7 separate regions of the Homo sapiens genome follow, and regions 2, 3, 4, 5, 6 and 7 are each linked to region 1. Evidence: promoter capture Hi-C in 16 types of primary human blood cells and fetal thymus (Javierre and others, 2016). All regions are on one chromosome and are shown on one strand. Each heading gives the region's core, a stretch centred on a gene start or on the middle of the fragment in contact. The rest is flanking DNA. Distances are from core to core; before and after follow the strand shown.

Region 1 (3,399 bases), core at 375-2,874:
GCCCACATCATCATCTTTATTAAATGTAATTAGAACCCTCTCTTCTGGGTTAACCTCAGGAAGAACCAGCTCCTTGATATTTTCATGCCATTGAAATTGTGGCGCCAGATATGGCCACAGTGGATAGAAACAGTATAACTTTTCTGCTTACCTTTCACTACATTTTTGAGAAGGTCTGAAAATTTTTCATAAAACTCTCAGGGATGTAGTTTTCAGTTTCTGTGACCTTTGTCTTTCTGAAATGGGAGAGGTTCCCTTGTCCCCCTCACAGGGCGTGCATTGGGGGTGTGGCTCGCTTCTTCAGTGCCCCGCTGCTCAGACCTCTAGAGAAGCATACAGACCGGCAGGCTGTGGGGCTCCGACCCCTTGACAGAGTCTGGGGGTGAATGTTTACAGCTCCTGAAGCCCCAGTGGGTGTGTGTTACAGGATGCTCTTTCAGTTTGCCTTTAGGGGGCTTGTGTTAACCAGCTCAATTAGACCCTCTACCTTGTCGCACAGACAGCGAGCTTTCTGTATCCTGGGTTCTTGCCTTGGTGTACCAGAAGAATTGGATCACACGTGGGCTTGGAGAATGAGTGCAAAGTTTTATTGAGTGGAAGTAGCCCTCAGCAGATGAGGGACCCAGAAGGGAAATGGTTTTCCTCTGGAGTTAGGCCGCTTGGCGGCCCGGGCTCTTTTCCGACTGCCCAGGCCAACCTCCGCATCGTTCTGCCCGTGAATGGCCTGCGGATGTGCCAGCGAGCTCCTCTTCTTCCACCCTTATGCTCCTCTGGACGTCTGGCTGCCTGTGTACCTGCCTGCTAGGGTCTGGGGTTTTCATAGGCACAGTATGGGGGAGTGGCAGGCCAGGGTGGTCTTGGGAAATGCAACATTTGGGCTGGAAGGCAGGAGTGTCAGTCCTCACCTAGGTCGGTGGGCGTGGAGCCCTAGCAAGGGACCACACACTCCTCTACCCAGCACTTCACTTCGCCCATCCCTATCATTTAAAGGGACCACGCTCTTCCCTTCCCAGCACTCCCCTATCATTTCTACACTGTAAATTTTTTTTGTTTATATTTGTCTCATCTATCAGGTTGTGAATTCCTTCACATTAACTTGCATGGAATTCATCTTGTTATAATGTGGTACCTAAAAATCCTAGTACTCTGGTTCAAAAATATATGTTTAACAAATGTTCAGTGAAAGCGAATGAATGAATGAACGATGACTCCCACACACGGAGGAACCCTGTCCTCCTGTAAGGTACATGATTTGAAGGTCCCAACAAGTCTATCTTGGAACAGGCCCAGTTGCGATGCCCATACAGTTCTCGGACTAACAAAAAGTGTCACACCATCCAGATATGCTTAATTTGGAAGCAGCTGTAAGCAGACTCCCGGCCAGCTCAAGTTTCCTCACCTGGGAAGAGGCGGGAGGCTGTTTACCGTACGGAAGCATAGCGGCCGCCTGCCTGAGTTCGGGAGCGCGGGTTCCTTTCCGGGAAAGAAGCCTAGGCCGTTTTCCGTACAGCAGCATGGCGGCCGCCGACGGGAGGCGGTCATAGCATCACGCCCGGGGGAAGAGGCCGCCGTAAAGGAAGCTCTGCTTCCTCTTCTTCCTTCTCCCGCCTCCCACCGGCTGTCGTAAAACGGTGAATGGAGAGCGAGTTGTGGGGGGGAAAAAGGGAGGACAGGGGGCGCGGAGTCAGAGTGGCGCAGCAAGTGGCCGCAGGTGGCGACGGTGGCGGGGGGTGGGGTGTGAGGTAATCCAGGGGTCGCGGAAGAGGAGGCTGAGAGGGTCAAAAGAAAACTAAAGCTGCAGTCCGGCCTACTGTTCCGGGGGCCGCGGAGCCCCCACCCGGGGAGATGGACCTCAACCGGATCATCCAGGCGCTGAAGGGCACCATCGACCCGAAGTTGCGGATTGCAGCCGAGAACGAGCTCAACCAGGTGAGGAGAGGGTCTTCGGCGACCCTCTTCCGCCGAAGGGGCGCCCCTGCCGGCTGGCCGGGCTCCCTCTCCCCGGCGCCCCTCGTCCTCACCCCCACCGGGCTGGGGCTGACGCCTCACGGCTGGTCCCGCTCTCCGACCCCGCTGCCCCCCGGTCCAGTGGAGCAGGGCTCCCAGGATCTTTGCCGAACAGCTCGCGCACCTGTTGGCCACCTTTGCACCTTTTCGTGTCGTCTCCCTTCTCCAGGGCAGTTTGTTCTGCCTACTTGGTCCGCAAGAAGCAGTTTTTGCAACCTGTGCTAGTGTTTTCAGGGTGTGATTTATTTTCCTTAAGTGCGCGGACTTGGGGAGCAGGTGGGAATTTTACTTACAGTTCAAATCTGAGTTCAGCTTTTTTCCAAACCCAGCCCTTTTTAGGTGTTGCTGTGGAGCACGCTGCCCACCGCCTCCTCCTGTCGGGTTGGCAGGACTGTTTTGACACCGATTGGCCGAGTTTTGCGGAGCGCTGGGCAGTGCTGTTGGGAGAGTGCTCTGGGAAGAATAGGCAGTTTTCATGGTGATACTGCTTTATCTAAGACACATCAAAGTAAGATGTGTTGGAGAAATTTCTTATGAATGCTAAAATGTGTAAGACTTCTTTCTTTTCTCCGTCTCCTGTTCTTCCTAATTAGCCTTGACGTCTTTCCAGCGTTACCCCCACACTTCAAAATTTTAATGATCCCAAACTCCAGCTTATTTCTTCTTCCCTACCGGTACTTAAGAATCACAGACCTCTTACTAAAAAGTAGGGATTAAGAGCTACCACTGGGATGGAGCAACAGCTGTTTTAGGTTGTGATGACTTGTAAAATGTAAATATTCCAAAATCAGCTGTTCTCAAAGCGTTGCCCAGGACCTGGAGCTTCAGCATCACCTGAGAACTTACAAATTATGCAAATTACGGGGCTTCAGTCCAGACTTAACGAATCAGAAACTGTGGGGGTGGGACCAGTTGTATTTTAACTAGCTCCCCCAGGTGATTCTGTGCCTCCCGAAGTGTGACTGAAGTGTGACTGTCCTAAGTAAATGTTTCTGTTGGAATTGACTTTAAAAAGCTGCGTGTTGGGAATCTTTGAAAGGGATTATTTTAATAGGAAACCTAGGTGGAGTTTGGAGTAGGTATAAATGCAGGATTCCCCAGAGATAAAAGGGAGAGTGAAGACACTGCCAATGGAGAGGAGGTTGGGTTGAACTAATGCCCAAAGATAATGCACTGGTGCCTGAAAAAGAAATGGACTGTCACTTAGAATAGGGGGAAGTTAAAGTCAGTACCTGTCCCAGGCTTTGCAGAGTAAAAGTACTGTATGTTGGCTGGCTGGAAGAATAGTAATCCAGGGGTTAGTTAGGAAGAACAAAGCAGGAGCTGAATTTGCAGTCTACTAATATGAACAGGGGAGTTGGCCTGTTTATGACCCCCTTCTCACAATGAGGC
Region 2 (3,399 bases), core at 621-3,120, 1.3 Mb after region 1:
TTAGAAATTAGCAGTGTCTAGAATAAAGTTAAATTAGGTAAAAGTTAAGGAAAAATATGAGCAGCACTCAGCACAGAAATTGTCATAAACACTTGTGAAATTTTTGAATGAATAAATAGATCCATCCATCTTTCCCTCCCTTCTTTTCCATATAGAGTGCTGAACTGAACAATTCTTTATTGTACAAGACATTTTTTGAGTACTTGCTATGTGCAAAGTACTGTGCTAGAAACTAAGGATAAACAGTGAAGAAAAAAATAAAGGGTTTTTGCCCTTTTTAATTTATTTTATTCCAAACTATACAGTATAAATATGACTTGTTATTTTAAATAGGCCTGACATTCTATAAGAAAATCCACACTTAAGCAGTGAATACATTAATAATTATTTAATTATAGTTGTATTGAGCCTGTAAAGGAGAAGTATGGCTGATAAGAGACTATTTAACAAGGTATTAAATGTACGCTGCAAGTCAGTGGAGACTTTATTGAGGAAGACCTTTGAACACTAGGAGAAGAGGAGGAATTTAATATATAAAGGAGGGAAGGGCATACAGCAGGAAAGAGCATGGCTGGAAGTTTATAAAATACATATAGAGATAACATTAGATTTCTATGAAAAAGTATTTCAGTATTTACAATACTCAGATCAAACATTTGTTTTTTTCCTCATTATCTCTTGAAATTTATGTTTTGTTGTTTTGTTACCATTACCCATCTCCAACCCAACCTGTTGCTGGGAACCTTGGAATGTCTTGAAATCTTAGCTTAAAGAAATTTAGCAGATTTTATTGCACCTTTGGATACAAACAATATTCTAGTCCACAACCAACTCAAAGAGGGAAATTTTGACAAATATTATAATCAGACTCTATATTATGTCCCTTTTTAAAATTTGTTTTTGGTCTTTTCACAATTTCACTTTCCTTCCCAGGTGGTAACTCACACTATCAGAGAGGCCAAATAGAAAAGCATTTGGTTCATATCTTGTCATCTCAGGGATATCCTGTAAACCCACTCCTAATTTTTAGTGTTACATTTGTCAAGTTCAATATTGATCTTTTTGAAGGTCTCATATTACCTCTCAGACACAATGTCAGTCTCAACTGTAATTTAAAAGAGTAATAAAAGGAACATAATTTGTAACACAATATGTATTTCAATATGCTTGAGCGTGAATACACTAGAAGACATAATGAAGTAGGCAGATGCTTGCCACTTATATGTAGAATTTTTAAGTGTATAATTGCTACAAATGCAGACTGAAACAGATGTATTGGCTACTCAGATATCATGAGTGACATTTCCGTTGATGAGATGATATTCAGAAATAGGAATACCTCTTTGTAATATTAAACAAAACAGAATATAAGCTTCCCTTAGTTTTCTGGGAAATTTAGTGTATATTAAAACTACAACTTTATATAGCTAAATGGGGTTCAGTTCTAGACTCAGATTATTATAATAGGCTTTTCATGTACATGAGTATCTCTTAGAACATTTGAAAGTCAGGCAAATCCTGGAATGATTCTTTTTTGTGTGAGACTGTCAATTTCATTGCAGGATGCCTTGTTTCTGTGGCTGTTGTCCAGTAAATCCCAATAGCAACCCCTTCCCAATAATTCTGACAACTCAAAATGCCTCTCTTCACCCCCCACCAATTTTCAGAACAACTTTTCCTCCACTGAAAGTCATTCAGGCTAGATTCTTGTCTGATAGGGTAGAAAATATCCCAGAAAAGAAACAGGTAAATTCTGAATATCCATCCTCCCTATGCAGAGTTTTAACAAGTGTCAGATAACTACAGTCATCTGTACTAGGGTGATTTAATTTGATTTTTAAATTTAATTTTTTGAAGAAGATGCTCACTTATGCTGTTACTTCATAAAATGAATACACCTGTTAACAAAAAAAAAAAGAAGGAAATATTATTTAAAACAGCTCTCTGTTCCTCTCAGAGTAAAATCCTGGGTGGTGAGAGAGATCATTGAAGTAAAATGTATAGGTTGAGCATCCCTTATCTGAAAATCTGAAATTCAAAATGCTCCAAATTTGGAGCATTCAAAATACTCCAAATTTGAGCATTGTCAACACGATGCTCAAAGGAAATGCTTAAGAGTGTTTCAGATTTCAGGTTAGGGAGGCCTCCCTGGCAAATAAAATGTACATATTCTAAAATCTAAAATTTGAAACTTCTGATCCCAAGCATTTTGGATAAGGGATATTCAACGTGTAGTATTGTAATTTGGTTATTCAGAAAAACTTTGTTGTTTGTTTGAAAATAATAGTAGGAACACTGTTAGACTGACAATATGATTGGAGCTAGTAATAATTTATGACAGTAGACTTTCTTTTTAGTAGTAAGCTTGAGGTAATACACTTGACTGTGAACACAGAAGAATTTACGAGACCAAACTACCAATCATTCCAGTGCATCAGGAAATGCTTTATTGAGCAAGGTTTTAGTATACTTTATGTTGAATGTCAGTTAATACATTTCCCTAATCATTGTATTGCCTTTTTTAAAGTGCCTGGTGTTTTGCTAGGTAACACATAGAACAAATTAAACAATGTTTAGACCTACTAGGGCATATTCTGAAACTTGACAATGGTAACAGACAGTTAATTGGTTATAAAGAAAGAAGGCTCCTTTATGGAGAGTTTCTATTTTCAGTTTTTTAGTTAATTGCTAGAATTAGTAACTGGGTAAAGCAGGATTGTGATAAAGGAGATCTTCAAGGTGATTTTTTAATTTTTTTTAACCAGGAACAGGGAAGGATAGTACTTATTTGTAGAAGTGTAAAGGTGCTAAAAGAACAGGTTAAATTTGAAAGATAACAGTGTATAACAGAACAAAGGTTTACTGCAGTGGTAGGCAAACTACAGTTTATATACCAAATCCAGCCTACTACCTGTTTTTGTATGGTTCATGAGCTAAGAAGGGCTTTTAAATTTTGTTTATTTATTTGTTTGTTTATTTTTTTGAGACAGAGTCTCGCTCTGTTGCTCATGCTGGAGTACAGTGACGTGATCTGGGCTCACTGCAATCTCTGCCTCCCAGGTTCAAGTGATTCTCCTGCCTCAGCCTCCTGAGTAGCTGGGATTACAGGTAGCCCACCACCACGCCCGGCTAATTTTTGTATTTTTAGTAGAGACAGGGTTTCACCATGTTGGCCAGGCTGGTCTCGAACTCCTGACCTCAGGTGATCCACTCACCTTGGCCTCCCAAAGTGCTAGGATTACAGGTGTGAGCCACCTTGCCCAGACATGGTTTTTACATTTTTAAATATTTGAAAATAAATCAGAAGGGGAGTAATATAATACATGAGAAATATATGAAATTTAAATTCGTGTCCAAAAATAAAGTTTTATTGGCATATAGCCATGCTCATTTGTTTAT
Region 3 (3,399 bases), core at 381-2,880, 1.3 Mb after region 1:
TTTGAAAAGCATAATATTCAGGATTTCTTTCCTATAGAACTCAATATTGTGATTAAATTATAAAAGTTTGAATTATTAAGCTGCCATTTCTGTAGATTAAAAAGTTTGAAAATTAGCTACTTTATATGATTCAGCCTAATAATTGTAATTACAATAATACATCAAGATGTTAGCTTTAGTACATCCACATTATGAAAATTTTGCTCTTCAAAATTAAAGTCAAAAAGCTTATATACTTAAATTAGGAATCCTTAACTCTCGAACAAAATGGTATGTTTCCCAAATATTTCTGTCTGTATTTAAGGCTGGAGGTAACTGAGGCTTCATTGAAACTGGTTAATAATCTTTGTCTAATGAACCTTGATTTAAAAGTTGGAAGTCAAATATGAGCACAAAATATTTCTGTAATGGTATTAGAAAATAAAACTTCCCTCTTTTCTCACTCTCTTTCTCTTTTAACCTCTCTTCCTTTCCTTCAACCTCTTTTCTCTCTCTTCCCCACCTCCTGTTCCCTTTTACATTCCCCCTCCCTAACCCCATCTCTCTGGACTTCTTACACTCTTTCAACTTCTCAATCCATCTCTCCCTTTTCACCTCTGTTAATCACTTTTTCTTTCTCAATCCCTCTACTTTTTTTTCAATTAACAACCTCCCTCTTCTCCTTTCTTTTCTCCCTCTCCCCAATCTCTTATACTCTTCCAAATTCTCATCCTCCTTCCCTCTCTCAATCCTTCTTTCTCAATGCCCTCCATCTTTCTCTTTCAACCAACCTCCCTTCCCCTTCCCTTTCCTTTTCTTACCAACCTTTTCTGTCTTTCTCTTTTCCCTCTTTCTCTCAACCCTCTGCCCAACTCCTCTCTTTTTCTCTCAACCTTTCCTTTCCTTTGCAAATGCTACAATGAGAAAGTATTATAAATGTCCTAGTATTTACTAAAAACCCTCACATGAATATTGGTCTAAAGGTTCTGCTTTCATTAAGTTATACTTTTGGATAGGAACACTGAGGAAAAATGAAAGATGAGATTTGCAATAGGGATTCTCTAATTCTCATGTTAATCTGTTTTGTACCATTTTTACTTTGTCTTTTGTGGATCTCTTCTTTTTATTAGATGATATTAAAGGGGATTAAAGTTGTATTGTATGAAATGTCAGGCCTGTCTAAAGCTTTTTTTTTCTTTTTTTTCCCCTCACACTTTGATCTGCTGGCCATTAATTTTGTTGCTGACACAATCGCTATTGTGACTTCCCTGGGTGGTGATTTGGGTGTAGTAGGGGCCAAGTCTGAAGGTTTACTGAAAAATGGACCCTAAAAGGCAGATTAATTGCAGAAATGTCATACAAATTTGTTTAACATGTATACACATGAGACGATACAGGAGAAATTGTCCATTTTTATGCTTAGTACAGAGAGCCATGTAGAGATATGATTTGACAAAAAGTGTATGATTTAATGCTGGCAGACTGAGTGGGGAAACCCAGTGAGGCTTGTCTGTCTCTATTCTCTTGGCTCTCTAAGCATGCATTTTTTCCTACTGGTATGAGGCAGTTCTCTCTCTGAAATGGGGGTCTGATGACCTACAGTCAAACAAGGTAAGTCAGATAATTTCTTTATGGCAAGTTTTTACACAGAAAGGCTGGAGCAGCAGGAAGTTAGAGTAATATTTTTAGGTTTTATGGCTGACTTTGGCAAAATGGGTTCTGATTTCTATGACCTACCCTGGGGAAGAGGGATCCTAGTTTCTATGGCTATCTATGGGGGAGAATGGGACTGAAAAATTGGAGAGCAGGACAAGGTCAGGAAATGTTTGCTTCTGAGGCCTTCATTTTGGGGCATTGTTTTCTGAGCCCCTAGAGGATGATGCTCTCAAGGTCCTTCAGCAAAGGGTGCAAGGTTAGCACCCCCTGTTTGACCCAGAGTAGCCACCTGATTTCCCTAAGAGAGTCACAGGCTATTTGGTGTTCTGTTTTTGGCTTCTGTTTGGCTATAATTTTAGAGTTCTTCCATATTCAATCTTTAATAGGACCTACTGTGTTAGAGCTGTTTTACTTTTCCTCTAGTTGAAAGCCAATTTAATTGAGGAGGGCGCATAAGCTTTCTTTCTTTCTTTGGCCTTCTTTCCAAGAACCACTCTCTCTTTTGTAATTCTTTTTTTTTTTTTTTTTTTTTTGAGACAGAGTCTTGCCCTGTCGCCCAGGCTGGAGTGCAATGGCATGATCTCAGCTCACTGCAACCTCCGCCTCCTGGGTTCAAACGATTCTCCTGCCTCAGCCTCCTGAGTAGCTGGGGTTACAGGCACCCGCTACTATGCCCAGCTAATTTTGTATTTTTAGTAGAGATGGGGTTTCTCCATGTTGGCCAGGCTGGTCTCGAACTCCTGACCTCGTGATCTGTCCACCTCAGCCTCCCAAAGTGAGCCACCATGCCTGGCTCCGTTTTGTGTTTCAATGTGAAGCTCTCTATGTATTTCGTTGCCATCAACTGTGTAAATTTATCTATGATGTAAGGGTTACATGGCCAAATTTAAAGAACTTAGAGAACTCATAACCTGATTTTTATTCATGTATTTTTAAAAATCCTTCTTGACCACCTACTGTGTGCCAGACAGAGACACCTAGAAAGAGAAAGCTTTCATCTGTAGAATCTCATTATAATAGAGAAAAACAATACATGAAGATAACTACTATTCAACATGCTATAGAAGCCAGCAGCCTAGGCAGGAACAACTACTGTTTTCTGCAGGAATAAGTGAATGTAATATTTGAGCTGAGTTTTAAGGTTTAAATAATAGTTGACTTGGTTTAGTTTAGTATTTATGTTTTATACACCATCTCTTATGTAACAAGCTATTTCCCTATCAACAACTCCACATAGTGTGAGTTTCTCCTGTCACATGGATCATTGGAAAATTTTTTTGTTCATTCTTAAGTCATAAATTACATTACTTCATTTCCTCTAACCCTTCACCTTTTCTTTCTGATATGTGTTTCAATGATGTAGTGCCAACATTTCACACTTTCCTTGTCAATTTAACAAACAGTCAACAACTTAAGTCTAGTAAGTATCTTATTCTCGCTGAAGATTAACAATGTTGGCCCATCTCTTGATTGCATCTTTGTCTCAACTTTATTATTCATAATATTAGCACTTGTGTTTTTCTATTTCCCACTGGTATGTATGAGAGTAAATTTTAACCAAATTATTAAATAATGGCAACAAAAACAACTGCTAGGTCCAAAGTTACTAAGAAACTCTGACAGAGGCAGAAGAAAATAGAAGGATTATAATAAAAGAAAGTAAAACTACAGTGATTAAGAAAGGGTGGGGCTGGGCATGGTGGCTCACACCTGTAATCTCAGCGCTTTGGGAGACCGAGGCAGGTGGATCACGAGGTCAGGAGA
Region 4 (3,399 bases), core at 491-2,990, 1.3 Mb after region 1:
ACTTCAATGAACCATGCAATTTCTGTAAAGATTTTGGACCTAATGAATATAGACCCCTGTTGCTACTCTCCTGGCTTCCCCGTTAGCTAGGCTATCACCCCATTCAAGCTGCTATAACAAATACCATAGACTGAGTGGTTTCCAAACAACAAATATTTATTTCTCACAGTATGGAGGCTGAGAAGTCCAGGATCCAGGTGCCAGCAGATTTGGTGCCTGCTAAGGGCTCACTTTCTGGTTCTTAGGCACAGCCCATTCTCACTGGGTCCTCACATGGAGGAAGAGGCCTCTAACCAAGCACATTCTGTCTCAAGTTTCACGTCCTCAATCATTCAAATGCTACCTTACCTGAGACCTCCTCTATCATACAATCTAAATAGCCTTCCTTAACCTTTTCTTCTAGGGATTGATCATGGCCTGATGGAGTATTATCTTTCATTCATTTATAATTTGTCTCTTCTACCAGAATTAAAATTTCCTGGCAACAGAACTTTGTCTCTTTTGTTCTTGCTGTATCCTCAATGTCTAAAGCACTGCTTGACAGAAAATATTTGATTTTTAAAAGAAAAAGTGGAAAAAATGGCCCTGAATGAGGGAAGAGCTTGGTAACTTAGGGAACTGTCAGAGGTCAGAGTGACTAGAGAGAGATTGAGCAAGGACAGACTAGAATGAAGTGGGGTGGTGGAGCAGAGAGGCTTTCTCCAATTGTGCAGCTCAGGCTATGATAGTGACTTTGGATTTTATTCCAGTTCAATAGGAGGTCATCATAAGTTTTGACAGGGGAGTAATTTGAAGGCTGATCTGGAGTGACAAAGTGAATTGTGTCTATAGTTATGAGGCTCTTGTCTACACCTGCACTGTCCAATCCATGTTGCTATTTAAATGTAAATTAGTTAAAATGAAGTAAAATGTGACAATACCAACATTTCAAGTGCTCAGTAGCTACATGTAGCGAGTGACTACCATATTGGACAGCAAAGATATAGAAAGCTCCATCATTGCAGAAAGTTCTATTGCACTGTTTTAGACAATAGATGATGTTGCTTTAGAGGAGGATAACAATAATGGAATGCGAGTGAAGTAGACAGATCTGGAGATAGAATGGAGAGGATTTCCTGATGGATTGAATATGGAATTCAGTATGCAAATCAAGAATGACTCTTAGGTTTATGATGTGAGACACTGGAGAAAGCATTTATGGAGATGGAAAATATGACAGGGAGAAAAAGATTTATAGAGAGATATCTGTTTGGGCCATGCTAAAAACATTGCTCTGATATATCCAGATTGAGTTGCCACTAGTTAGCTAGAGATAGAACTCTTGAGCTAGTGGAGGATTTGGAGCTATAGATATCAATTTGGGACTTTTCAGTTTCTCACTAATTTAGTTATCCTTTCTCCTACATCGTCTATCTTCTCTATCATTCTCATCAGTTTCAAACATGTTCTAATATTATCTATCATTTAAAACAAACTAAAACTAATGTAAGTCAGCAATTATCCCATTTCTCTGCTTCCTTTTAAAGCAAAATTTCTCACTTTTTAAAGGGTTGATGGATTTAGGAAGTTTATGGGATCAATGGCTTAGAAGGTCATGGTGAGATTAAATAATTGTAGCAAAGAAATATTAATATACTTAGGAGGTGGTGATTTAGAAAGTGGGATGTTTGAACTAATTCCAGAGGTGTCAAATGATTACAAATTCAGAGCAGCGATAGTAAAGAATTAAAAGATAAAGGGAATCATAGTACCATAGTACTAGCTGAGTCTCACAAGTTCTTTACTTGTTGGTGTGCAATCTGGTTACTAAATATTTTGAATATCCCCCTTGGTCAAACACAAATTTAAGGAACGTTGGCAAACTGGAGTGCATCCAAAGAGCATAATGAGCAGGATGTAGAAGGGTGTGGACATCCTGGGCATGTTTACCTTGGAGAAGAGAGAAGACAGAAGGATCATAATTCTTTTTAAATATACATGGAATTCTCATGGAGAGGTTCTCAGGCCATGTACAAAACTTGTTCTGCTTAATATTATCTAATAACTTATTAAATATTTACCATTATCCAGGCATTGTTGAGCTAAGACCCAATCTCATGAAGATGAAAACTCTTAATCTTTTAACAATCTTATGTAGGTAGGTTACATTATCTTCATTTTAAATATGAGACAAGCAAGTCACAAAACTGTTAAATAAATTGCCTCCAGTGACATCGCTAATAAGTAGAAAACGTGGGACTCAACTGAAGCACTCTGTGTTCTTGGCCACTATTCTAACCACGTGGTAGTCATCACATTGATGCCTTTTGACACAAGGAGAGGAAGAACAGTCTAGAAATTAGATCAGTTTAAAAGGAGAAAATGCTGATAAGTTCCAGGTCATATCTTCAAGGCGAGCATTATATGTTTTGGATTATTTTAGAGTAAACTCTGTATTAGGTGTAATGTTCAACTTAATAATCTAGGAGCCTGTATTTAAACTAGCCCCTTTTCCAGCCACCTATCTTCAACCTACAGGCTTTATAAATGTGTTTTCTGTATTTCTGTCTAAGTCATCAATGAAATACCGTACTCGGTGGAACCAAAGACAGAATCATTTCCATACCATTTAGACCTTCCCTCCAGGTTAACATTTCTTGTATGGTTATTTAATCACCTGTGGAACTTCCTAGCCACATAATTATCTACGTACCATTTGCTGTCTGTTCACAGGGACATCACAGGCACTTTATTAAGTGCTTCATTGAAGTCAAGGTTCATTAAGTTCATCCCATTCCCCCTAGCCACCATCTAATTAGCTCTTTTAAAAAATGAAATTAGGTTAATTTAATGTGGCGTGTTAAGGATCCCATGTTGCCTTCTCATGACCACTGATTCCTCCTCCAAGTGTTCAAAAACCATCTGTCTAATAATTTGCTGTAAAAATTTTGCTGAGGTTTATTTTCGTTTAACAAATATGTATAATACTTTGTAAATACCAACTGATTTAATCCTAAGAAAATATTGTTTTTATCTACATTTTGCAGATGAGAATACTGAGGCACAGACAGAGATTGAATAACTTGCCATATAGTTAATATGGCAGGTTATTATGGAGTTATTATCTCCATTTTGCAGATGAGATTATCGAGGCACAGAGAGAGGTTGAGTAGCTTGCCATATAGTTAATAAGGGATAGAGTTGGTTCAAACCAGCAGTTTGGTTTTAGAATCTGTGCCTGTAAGCACTAAGCTATGTCCCTTCACTGACAGGACTTTGGAAACCCCTACACCTCTCTGTTTTTCTCTGTCTCCTACCTACCGCCTTATGCTCCCAAACATCCTTTTTGAAAAACAGAGTAACAGTTTCCTGTTGGGAACAGGCCCCCCAAAATCTGGCCATGAACTGGCCCCAAAACAA
Region 5 (3,399 bases), core at 357-2,856, 1.3 Mb after region 1:
GGGTTCTAAATCTTAGCTGGCTGATTAGCTCTGGACAATTTATTATCTCTGATTAGAATTTTCTTTTAGTGATGTAATAAAAGATTAGAGTAAGTTTTGAAAACAAACTACACAAATATTAGATTCTAGTATTATAAATGTAAACAATGTAATTCAGAGTTGTCAGATTGAACTTTAGAATATGTAATTAGTGAGATTTTTTTTTATTCTTGATGTAGACAACTGAAAGCTAGTTTCCCCCCTTGGCACCTAAAAGCATTGCTGAGAATATGTTATTCTAGACCTGTGTATACTGTATATTTGGAAAAAGTTAATTAAGTAATAAAGCATTTATATCATATGAAAGTTTTCTCTTGGAAGAATATATTAAGAATACTGCTTTCAGATGGAATTAGGCAGTTAACAGGTATTATCTATAGCTGTGTCCTATAATCTTCCATAGACCCTAGGCTATGTCAGAGATCATCTGAGAGATGTGTTTGTTTCCTATACCTTTTGAATATTTAAGACGGAGAAAATTTTCAGTGAAACCAACCACCTCCTAATAATTACTTGTTTTCCCAGGACAATTAGGGAAGAGAGCTGTTTACCTTGATCTGAAAAGGCATATAGGAAGCCTGTTAAAAATTGGTTTTATTCTCATTTTCTCTGCTTCCTGTTCTTTTAGGTCCAAAGGACAGTAAAATAACCAGACTTTCCCAAAGTTCAAACAGAGAGCACTTGGTCCCTTGTGAGGATGTTCTTCTGACCAAGCCAGAAGGGATCATGCAGATCCCAAGAAATTCTCACAGAACTACTATGGGGTAAGGAAGTCATGATTATTATAATGGAAGAAGTGTGTGGAAAAAATTGCTTGACTGACATCAACACTTGGTACTTGCTTAAAACATTATTCTTCACCTTTTTTCCAAAAAGAATAGACTCTTAGGTAACCCCTAATCTATGGCTTTTAATATGGAAACAAAACAAAACAATATAAGAATGTCCTTGTTTATCAATTGTACTTTCTCAACAAAATAGACCATGTATTAGCAAAGTGAAAAGTCAAATCTTTACAAAGAATGTTGGAGGCTGATATAATGTATGTAAAATATTTGGGTACATAGTAGATACTTAATAAATGATGTGTGGGAGTTTGGGGCAAATTCTGGCACATATAGGTCCTTCAGATCTTATAAATTTTCAATCAGAATTTAAAACAATACACACAATTGGTCAGCCATTCATAATGTATGAACTTTATAAATTTTGGCAAATTACGTATTAGATAATAAAGTTGATATAATTTAAAGTACAAATCTTTCTCTCTCACAACCATAAGGAAACAGACACAAAAAATAAGGCTCACTGGGGGTCAATAACATTGATGCATTAATTTCTGAGCAAAATAACTAACAATATATTCTGTTTAGAAATAATTTCTGACTTTGTTTCATCTATGCCATAGTTGCCAATGGAGATTAGTAGCCCCTTTAAATCACATCATTCAGCTTAATATTATTAACTTCCCGATGAAGCCAACAACTTTTGTCTGTCATGGTCATCTGCGTGTTTACGAAGGATTTGGACCAGGAAAAAAATTAATAGGTAACTGATTTCCCATGAATCTCTATGCTACTGATTTTTCTCTGATGAAACATGTTTAGATTGTTTCATATTCAGTATGTGGCTTACATGTGACATACACTAGTCTCTTCTTATAGGATGTTGAAATAGACTTACTGTTAAACTTGTGTCAGATTTAAAATTAAGATATAAAATCTCCTCAGGTTTAGTTAAAAACAAAGTCCAACAACGTTTCTTACATGGATCATACCTAGATTAAAATTGCTCAGAAATACTAAAAATAAAGAATGAATGAAGCAGTTTTAGACAAAAACACAAGAAAATTAAGACTATAAAATTAATAAGGCAAAATAATCACAGCAAAAGGCATTACATGAGTTTATCAATTGGTAGGAGTTAGAAGCCTGGTTACTTTAATTTAAACTCATTATTTTCTTTTTTTTTGGCACAAATCGTTGTTTTTATTTAATTTGGGAAAAACATCTTTACAAGTTGATAAATACTAGAATTGTCAATGAGAAAAATGCTACTGAAATACCTATTTTTCTCTTTGATGGCAGAATTTCCTAAATATTTGCATTTTAACATATTTTATCTCATACTTTAGCTGACATTACTTAGTTGTATATGGATCTATTCTTAATAAAATAAAGAGAAAAACATAAAGAGAGGAAAAGGATTATTAAATTTGGTATTACAATTGTGTAGAAGTTTCCCCATCATAAAATTTCTTTTTTTTATTTTTTTTTATTTTATTATTATTATACTTCAAGTTTTAGGGTACAAGTGCACAATGTGCAGTTAGTTACATATGTATACATGTGCCATGCTGGTGTGCTGCACCCATTAACTCGTCATTTAGCATTAGGTATATCTCCTAAAGCTATCCCTCCCCCCTCCCCCCACCCCACAACAGTCCACAGAGTGTGATGTTCCCCTTCCTGTGTCCATGTGTTCTCATTGTTCAGTTCCCACCTAAGAGTGAGAATATGCGGTGTTTGGTTTTTTGTTCTTGAGATAGTTTACTGAGAATGATGATTTCCAATTTCATCCATGTCCCTACAAAGGACATGAACTCATCATTTTTTATGGCTGCATAATATTCCATGGTGTATATGTGCCACATTTTCTTGATCCGGTCTATCATTGTTGGACATTTGGCTTGGTTCCAAGTCTTTGCTATTGTGAATAGTGCCGCAATAAACATACGTGTGCATGTGTCTTTGTAGCAGCATGATTTATAGTCCTTTGGGTATATACCCAGTAATGGGATGGCTGGGTCAAATGGTATTTCTAGTTCTAGATCCCTGAGGAATCGCCACACTGACTTCCACAATGGTTGAACTAGTTTACAGTCCCACCAACAGTGTAAAAGTGTTCCTATTTCTCCACATCCTCTCCAGCACCTGTTGTTTCCTGACTTTTTAATGATCGCCATTCTGACTGGTGTGAGATGGTATCTCATTGTGGTTTTGATTTGCATTTCTCTGATGGCCAGTGACGGTGAGCATTTTTTCATGTGTTTTTTGGCTGCATAAATGTCTTCTTTTGAGAAGTGTCTGTTCATGTCCTTTGCCCATTTTTTGATGGGGTTCTTTGTTTTTTTCTTGTAAATTTGTTTGAGTTCATTGTATATTCTGGATATTAGCCCTTTGTCAGATGAGTAGGTTGCGAAAATTTTCTCCCATTTTGTAGGTTGCCTGTTCAATCTGATGTTAGTTTCTTTTGCTGTGCAGAAGCTCTTTAGTTTAATTAGATCCCATTTGTCAATTTTGGCTTTTGTTGCCATTGCTTTTGGTGTTTTAGACATGAAGTCCTTGCCCATGTCTATGT
Region 6 (3,399 bases), core at 561-3,060, 1.2 Mb after region 1:
GTTCTCAGATTGAAGAGCTACATTCAGCTGATAGTTGACATCTGTTCCCTCACACGTAGTGGCTCTCAACACGGGCTGCACTTTGGAATCACCTGAGGACCTTTCGGAATCTTCGGTTGAATCATCCTGGCTGTCCTGGTGATGCTTCTTATGTGCAGCTAGGCTGGAGAACCACTACAGGGCTGACACCTGGAATGGGAGCTTGTAACTTTTACAAAATAATAGATGTTTATCATCTTTTGCAATTTTTACTTTTAAGTCTATACTAAAATGAGCCAAAGAAGTCTTAACAATGATGTATGGCACAATTGGTTGGTTGAGGCTATCATTCCATGATTACAAATAGGTGGTTATGTGGGGTGGTTTTGCACTTGTGGCAATTGGACTGCAATTTGGCCTTAAAATGACACAATTCCTCGTTCTCAGATGGAGAGGAATTGCCTTGAAATTTGCATGTACCAGACTAAGTGCCAGTATATATATGACTGATATTTTCGTGACTCATAGAAGGTGTCCATGGTATAGAGTTTATGCCTACATCTCTATCTTTATTTTGGGCACACATGAGCTTTTGTTAATTATTTCTTTGTACTTGTTAGAATCTGTTTTTGAAAAAAAAAAAAACTTTTGCTTTGATTTGTGGTGGATTCACCTTCTTAAAATAATAAATTTAGAGGATATTAGGAATGACATTCAAAACAAATATAGTGAGAGGTGATTTTTTAAAAATTTTTGTTCCTGGTTTCCAAATTATGTTTACTTTGATTTGATTATATGTTGGTATCTCCCAAATATAGGTTAACTTAGCTATTTAAATGGTATCTTTTGACATTTAAAAAGAATTAAGTACCTGTCAAATCTAGCATTGAGGTTGCAGTTGAATAAGATAAAAGCTTAGGATGTCAAAAAATAATATAGAGAAATATTATAAGATTTTATGATTATTCTTGACGTTTTTGATGCAAAAGGAAAATATGCTGAATAGTTCTTCCAAAAAATATTATTTCCCTCAATATTTTATTTGTAGCCATGTAATTTAAAGAGAACAGAAAATAACTGCAATCAAAAGTATGGTTTAATATCAATCAAAGTGGCACAACAGAATTGATAAGATCTTTATAACAATCAATTGGCTGATATTAAAATATTGATTTTAATTGATCTTTTCAATTAAAATCTTTAGGGCCTGTAACTCATAAAATCAGCATCCACCACAATATATGGTCATTATTGGTTTGTAAGCATAGATCACCATTGACTCCTACCTGGAGAGACATGTCTATTTCTAAAAATCCAGTAGTTTCTTTGCATTCTCAGTAGTACACGTTGTATATATATATATGTAACAAATTTGGTAGTTTTCAGTATGTGTGATGTCCTTTGGGGGTTATTTATCTTGCTGGTCCATAGGAGGGGTACACTACCCCAAGAATCAAGACATCTGAGTTCTAGTTCTAGTTCTAGCTCTGCCACTGAAGAGCCACCTTACCTGGGGCAAGTTAGCCATTGTCTCCCAGTCATGTTTACCACCCATGAAAGGACTCGTCGGTTTGATGTTTCCATTAAGCTCAATGAGTAACTCTAATAGTTACTCTTGAATCTGGATTGAAAAACACCATGCATCTGATGAGATAATTCATAAATGTTGCCCCTTTTTTAAATGATACAACCCTAAAAGTGACTGAATTGCCCAAGTGCTTGAACATGGCAGAGGTAGTTACTCCTATTTTGCAGTTTGTGCACTTAAAAATTCCTACAGTGATTGTTACTTTACTGGGGAAAAAAGATGAGGTGAAACTTCCTCCCAAGGAATTAAAATATCTGTAGAAGCCATGGCTTGCTTTTATAATGTGGAAATCATTTGATTTGCTGTAATTCACGCAGATCCCTCCTTTTGTCAGGGGGAAATGATTTGCATCATGTTCTTTTTTCATAATGCTTTTACTTCCTGTTTGGATCAGTTGTATGTAAATGTACATTTTTGTTACTTTGGCTGTGCCCGTTAGAATTTATCTTCCATAAAGTATTTCTCCCATTGAGTCTAATGATGTATACTTTGCCTAGGTCTTTCCAAAATTAAATTTATGTAAATGTCTATTTTATATAAAATATGATTAAAATAAGTATGTCTGGTTTCAATCTCTCAAGTACTTCATGGTTAGTACCTACTGATGTCCATGTCACCAGGAGTGTCTGTTTTAACAATGTTTTAAAAAGGACCATCTTCCTTCCTTCATTCTTTCATTTACTCATTTCATTGCATTATTCTGTGTGCTTCCTGTCTGCTCTCTTTCCCTTCCTCCGCACAGTGCCAATTCAGTACTCACCCACTCCAGATCCGCTCCCCTATCATGCTTAGATGCTGTCACCTCTCTCTTCACAGAGTAAATAAAAGGTAGAAAGCAGCTGTCCCCCAATGCCCTGCACTTCATCTATACATTTACCTGCACCTAATTCTATCCTTTCTTTTCTCCTGTTATCGTAATGGAAGAAGAGGACCCTAGGTTCTGCATTTTGCCTCTTATGGAACTTCATTCCATGCCTTAACTTCTCCTTCATCTTTTTACTTCTTCCTTTTGCTGGCTCTTGTCAATTTGTCAGTTCTACTCTTCTTAAAGCACATACACAGGCAATCAACACCGAAACAATTTGAAAAAAAAAATCCTCTGTTTCATTTTATCTGTAGCTGCTATCACATCTCCGTCTGCCCTTCACAGCCAAGCTTTTCGAATAGCAGATCACAGTTGTCCTATACTAGTGAAGATGTCCAAATTAAAGACAGATTTGCTGTACATCACAAGTCACCACTGTCTGGGGGTAGTCCAGTCCACTCCTCTCCTTGGTATCCTTTCCTTTTCTGAAGTTATTTTAAACATAAAAAGAGGATTCTTCCATTTGGATGTTTTAATATAACTACAAACTCAATTTATATTGAAACCATTACTTTTTTAGAAAATTTGAGTCTAAAACTAAAACTAATGGCCTGGCTTTTTTTGTTTGTTTGTTTGTTTTTGAGATGGAGTCTCACTCTGTCACCCAGGCTGGAGTGCAGTGGTACGATATTGGCTCACTGCAACCTCCGCCTTCTAGTTCAAGCGATTCTCATGCCTCAGCCTCCCGAGTAGCTGGGATTACAGGCATGTGCCACCACACCCGGCTATTTTTTTTATTTCTAGTAGAGATGGGGTTTCACCATGTTGGCCGCCAGGCTGGTCTCGAACTCTTGACCTCAGGTGATCCGCCTGCCTCACCCTCCCAAAGTGCTGGGATTACAGGCGTGAGCCACTGCGCCTGGCCTATGGCCTGGCTATTAATGGTGTGTAATTCTTATTGAATGGCTCTTTTTCCACTTAATGGAAAGGCATTATTATGTGAGGCCTGTAAGGGACTAAACCTTTG
Region 7 (3,399 bases), core at 448-2,947, 1.2 Mb after region 1:
GAAAAACAGAGCCTCTTCTCCCTCAAGGAATAAATGCTTTTTAAAACCTTTTAATTACCATTTTGGCTAAATGAATTACTATTATTCTACAGTGACCTGTGATCATATTTTAATTAAATGTTTTAAACCTTTGACATATTTGACAGGCTTCTTTCCTTAAATCAAATTTCAAGTTGGAAATGAAGTCTTTTTGACCTCAACTAACTTGAGACACTCTGCAGAGGCCTTCTGCAGCATCCAAAAGAGAGTTTATAGACTTATTTGACATGTTAAACTATGAGAAGCATTGTCAAATAAGTAATGTTTAGCCTTGAGTTATGTTTTTATGAATACATTATTAATATATGTTCCAAAATTATGAGATTCCTAAAATTCTGATATGTCTTGGTATGTTATCCATCATAATTATGGTTATTATATTAAATTATTATAGGCCACAGGAGAAAAAAAACAACTTTTTTGTCAATTACATCTTTAACCATGACCATAGTTAACTTTTCCATAGTTAATTGCTTAATTATGATACATTTTCTAAAAGCTCTTGATAAAGAAGTAAAATCCTAGAATGGCGTATCTTCAAGGAGGTTCACAGAAAGGATGAAAAGAACCCTGACAAGCACTCTTGAAAACAGGTTTCTGATAACTTAAAGATCACATTATTTGGATTAAGAATTCCCAAAACTCTAATGAAGAGACTGACTGGGTTATAAAACTTCTAACCCAAGCAAGACAAGAATTAATTGAATACCAAGAAAACACTTTGCCAGATTTTCATGCTAAATCAGCTCTCACTAAAATGTTTTAAGTATACAATTTAAATAAACTTCTATGGTCCAATTCAAATTACCTATGATGGCCCACCTAATAAACAGTGCTATACATCTGAATTGAAAAACAAAATTGGTTTTTGAGAGGATCTAAATTCAGTATTAAGCATATACTCATGGAGAGCCTAAATGGCCACCTGGTCCTTCCAAAGTCCTTCAAGCTTTCATTGTTAAAAGTTCTGTATGCCATCACTCATCATAGGAGGGATAAACTGATCCAGGTTACATTTTTAAAGTATTTATTGGTATGGTGACTATTCTAAATTGCTAAAATGGTTGACTAATATTTGGGTGGTCAAACTCATAATCCTGGGAAGACAATCAAAACTTCAGGTACATTTCTGCTACCTGATGGGCCATTTAAACATTTATAGAGAAATTTCATTCAACTGTCATTTTTAATGCGTATTTTCTGGTTATATGAAAGCTTTCTCATACAAAAATCTGATGGCTGTAATAGTAGCTAAAACATTATTAGAAAGTGTGTTTCCCTCATGGGACATTCCTAGAAAAATCTCTAGCAATAAAAGGCACTTGATTCACTGGACAAGTTGTAAAACAAATAAGGTATTTCAGATACAATAGCATTAGGCAAAGGTAACTGATTCAACTAGATTGTCTTATTCAAAAGTATTACAGTGGATACAGTGGATAATCAGATCCACTTCCAGGGGAAAACGTAAGTTGGCCTTTCTAAAATAGTCGGTAGAGGGCCCATATCCCTAATAACAAAACCTCATTTACTTTCTGGTCTGAAACTCTGATATGACTAAATGCTACAAGGCTTTAATACATCATGCCAAAGTATACTTTCGCTAGATTTAAAAAAAAAAAAAGGCTTTTCATGATCAGTGACTGTGGACAATCAAACCCTTCATGGTCTAAAACCCAGAGACTGGATATTCTGAAAATGATATCAGAAAAAGACTGCCCTTTGCTGAGCACAGTGGCTCACACCTGCAATCCCAGTATTTTGGGAAGCCAAGGCGGGTGGATCACCTGAGGTCAGGAGTTCGAGACCAGCCTGGCCAACATGGTGAAACCCTGTCTCTACTAAAAATACAAAAATTAGCCACTGGGTGTGGTGATGGGTGCCTGTAATCCCAGCTAATTGGGAGGCTGAGGCAGGAGAATCGCCTGAACCCAGGAGACGGAGGTTGCGGTGAGCTGAGATCCTGCCATTGCACTCCAGCCTGGGTGACAGAGCAAAACTCCATCTCAAAAAAAAAAAAAAAAAAAAAAAAAAAAAAAAAAAAAAAAAAGACTGCCCTTGCCACCCACACTACAGCAAAACTTTGGGACCTCAAAGCTTAGGTTCATAATCTCACAACTGAAAAGGGCCCTCCAGACTCTTTGACCTATACACCCATTTGAAACCTTAAGATAAAGCTAATCAGGAAAGTTTCTCCCCAAAACAAATGGCATCCTAGACATGGACAGCTTTCCCAAGATCACAGATCAAGACTTTTCTGCTATCATCAGACTCTTACCTCTCTTAATTTTTTCCTTGCTTATGCCTCTATAAACAATAAAACTAAAAAGGGAGATTTGTGTACATCATGAGGTATAACTTTATTTGTAGAGGACTTTGCAGCCAGCATTATACATTGACAGTCTTATGCCTGGGTAGAAAAGATTCAGGACCAATGTGAGCAAAAACATTTAATGGCATCTTTATTCTTCCATAATCAGTCAGAACCAGAACATTGGTTCATTCCTTTTAACCTACATCATAGGTTTAAAACAACACTGCCAGGGGCCTTCACTCTTCTAGTGAAGTTTAAACATGGAGTTTCTTTACACTCTTCTAGACATAATTCTTAGGCCCCTTTTCCCATAATTTAAAGGAGATAATGATTACAATTCATCCCTCATAATAGGCTCCATAACAGATTGTACTACAAAGACTGATTACACAAAAGTCATCTTTAAATTCTCTTGCTAAGGTTGTGCTGGATAATAAAATTACTCTAGATTGTCTACTGGATAAACAGAAAAAAATCTGTACCATTACTGACTCTATTTGTTACATGTAAATAAATGCATTGACTATTACAGAGATTTGGTTGTAGGGTATTAATAAACAGACTGCTTGATTAAAACAAGTAGACTCCTTTTCTGGCTCATTCTTTGATCTATTTCATTTTAGTTGGTTTGGTTCATGGAGATGCTGACTAAGGAGCATACTCCAAACTCTTGATTTGATCTTCTTGATCATTATAATTGTCTCTCTGGCACACTATGTTCCCTCAAAAGTTTTCAATGGTTACATACAGCCATTTGTAAAATGTCAAATGGTCTCTCTTTAATTGAGATGACAAAAACTCAAAAAAGAGTGTTCTCATAAAGACATCATAACCAATAAATGATGTACTGAGACCAAAACCCTAAAATAATGGTAACTGAGAATGGCGTTAAAAGCCTAATGGTCACACTCACCTAAGTAAAATCATAACCAAAAGGAAGAAACTGTTAAACAAAATTAGGAGATGCCATTATTTTGGACTGAGTTCATACAATAGGCCCCAGCAGACCAGACCAAACCAAAATAGAGTCACTCATGCTAAGTGTG

The links. The method cuts DNA at HindIII sites, captures the fragments that hold promoters and counts their contacts. A CHiCAGO score of 5 or more calls a contact.
Region 2: a contact is called between a fragment that was not itself captured here and the fragment with the promoter of IPO8 in region 1, in 13 of 17 cell types (activated CD4 T cells, total B cells, naive CD8 T cells and 10 more). The highest score is 14.3, in activated CD4 T cells.
Region 3: a fragment that was not itself captured here is called in contact with the fragment with the promoter of IPO8 in region 1 in 4 of 17 cell types (non-activated CD4 T cells, neutrophils, activated CD4 T cells and 1 more); the score reaches 6.7 in non-activated CD4 T cells.
Region 4: a fragment that was not itself captured here is called in contact with the fragment with the promoter of IPO8 in region 1 in 4 of 17 cell types (monocytes, M2 macrophages, M0 macrophages and 1 more); the score reaches 14.8 in monocytes.
Region 5: a contact is called between a fragment that was not itself captured here and the fragment with the promoter of IPO8 in region 1, in 4 of 17 cell types (neutrophils, monocytes, total CD4 T cells and 1 more). The highest score is 7.5, in neutrophils.
Region 6: a fragment that was not itself captured here is called in contact with the fragment with the promoter of IPO8 in region 1 in 2 of 17 cell types (M1 macrophages and neutrophils); the score reaches 5.8 in M1 macrophages.
Region 7: a fragment that was not itself captured here is called in contact with the fragment with the promoter of IPO8 in region 1 in 2 of 17 cell types (total CD8 T cells and total CD4 T cells); the score reaches 5.8 in total CD8 T cells.

Annotation. Positions count from the first base shown.
Region 1 is chr12:30,694,094-30,697,492 of GRCh38, reverse strand. It overlaps IPO8 (importin 8), which reads left to right and starts at 1,624. Exons shown (of 25, transcript NM_006390.4): 1 at 1,624-1,929. The coding sequence starts at 1,846. RefSeq lists an enhancer at 1,235-1,734 and a silencer at 1,825-1,874. The HindIII fragment of the contact is 4,530 bases long and covers 1-3,399 here.
Region 2 is chr12:29,352,248-29,355,646 of GRCh38, reverse strand. The region is part of intron 8 of ERGIC2 (ERGIC and golgi 2); the gene reads left to right. Among named protein-coding and RNA genes, the nearest start is that of ERGIC2, 27 kb to the left of the region's middle. The HindIII fragment of the contact is 992 bases long and covers 1,375-2,366 here.
Region 3 is chr12:29,399,920-29,403,318 of GRCh38, reverse strand. The region is part of intron 1 of OVCH1-AS1 (OVCH1 antisense RNA 1); the gene reads right to left. It also overlaps a transcript of OVCH1 not described here. Among named protein-coding and RNA genes, the nearest start is that of OVCH1-AS1, 12 kb to the right of the region's middle. The HindIII fragment of the contact is 928 bases long and covers 1,167-2,094 here.
Region 4 is chr12:29,424,417-29,427,815 of GRCh38, reverse strand. The region is part of intron 1 of OVCH1-AS1 (OVCH1 antisense RNA 1); the gene reads right to left. It also overlaps a transcript of OVCH1 not described here. Among named protein-coding and RNA genes, the nearest start is that of OVCH1-AS1, 37 kb to the right of the region's middle. The HindIII fragment of the contact is 5,763 bases long and covers 1-3,399 here.
Region 5 is chr12:29,441,549-29,444,947 of GRCh38, reverse strand. OVCH1 (ovochymase 1) reads left to right here. Exons shown (of 26, transcript NM_001353179.2): 24 at 668-803; 25 at 1,448-1,587. All of the region lies in intron 1 of OVCH1-AS1 (OVCH1 antisense RNA 1), which reads right to left. Among named protein-coding and RNA genes, the nearest start is that of OVCH1-AS1, 54 kb to the right of the region's middle. The HindIII fragment of the contact is 5,628 bases long and covers 1-3,399 here.
Region 6 is chr12:29,499,564-29,502,962 of GRCh38, reverse strand. TMTC1 (transmembrane O-mannosyltransferase targeting cadherins 1) reads left to right here. Exons shown (of 18, transcript NM_001193451.2): 18 at 1-2,123. Among named protein-coding and RNA genes, the nearest start is that of OVCH1, 3.6 kb to the right of the region's middle. The HindIII fragment of the contact is 1,829 bases long and covers 896-2,724 here.
Region 7 is chr12:29,523,849-29,527,247 of GRCh38, reverse strand. All of the region lies in intron 11 of TMTC1 (transmembrane O-mannosyltransferase targeting cadherins 1), which reads left to right. The region is part of intron 2 of LOC105369714 (a long non-coding RNA gene); the gene reads right to left. Among named protein-coding and RNA genes, the nearest start is that of OVCH1, 28 kb to the right of the region's middle. The HindIII fragment of the contact is 882 bases long and covers 1,257-2,138 here.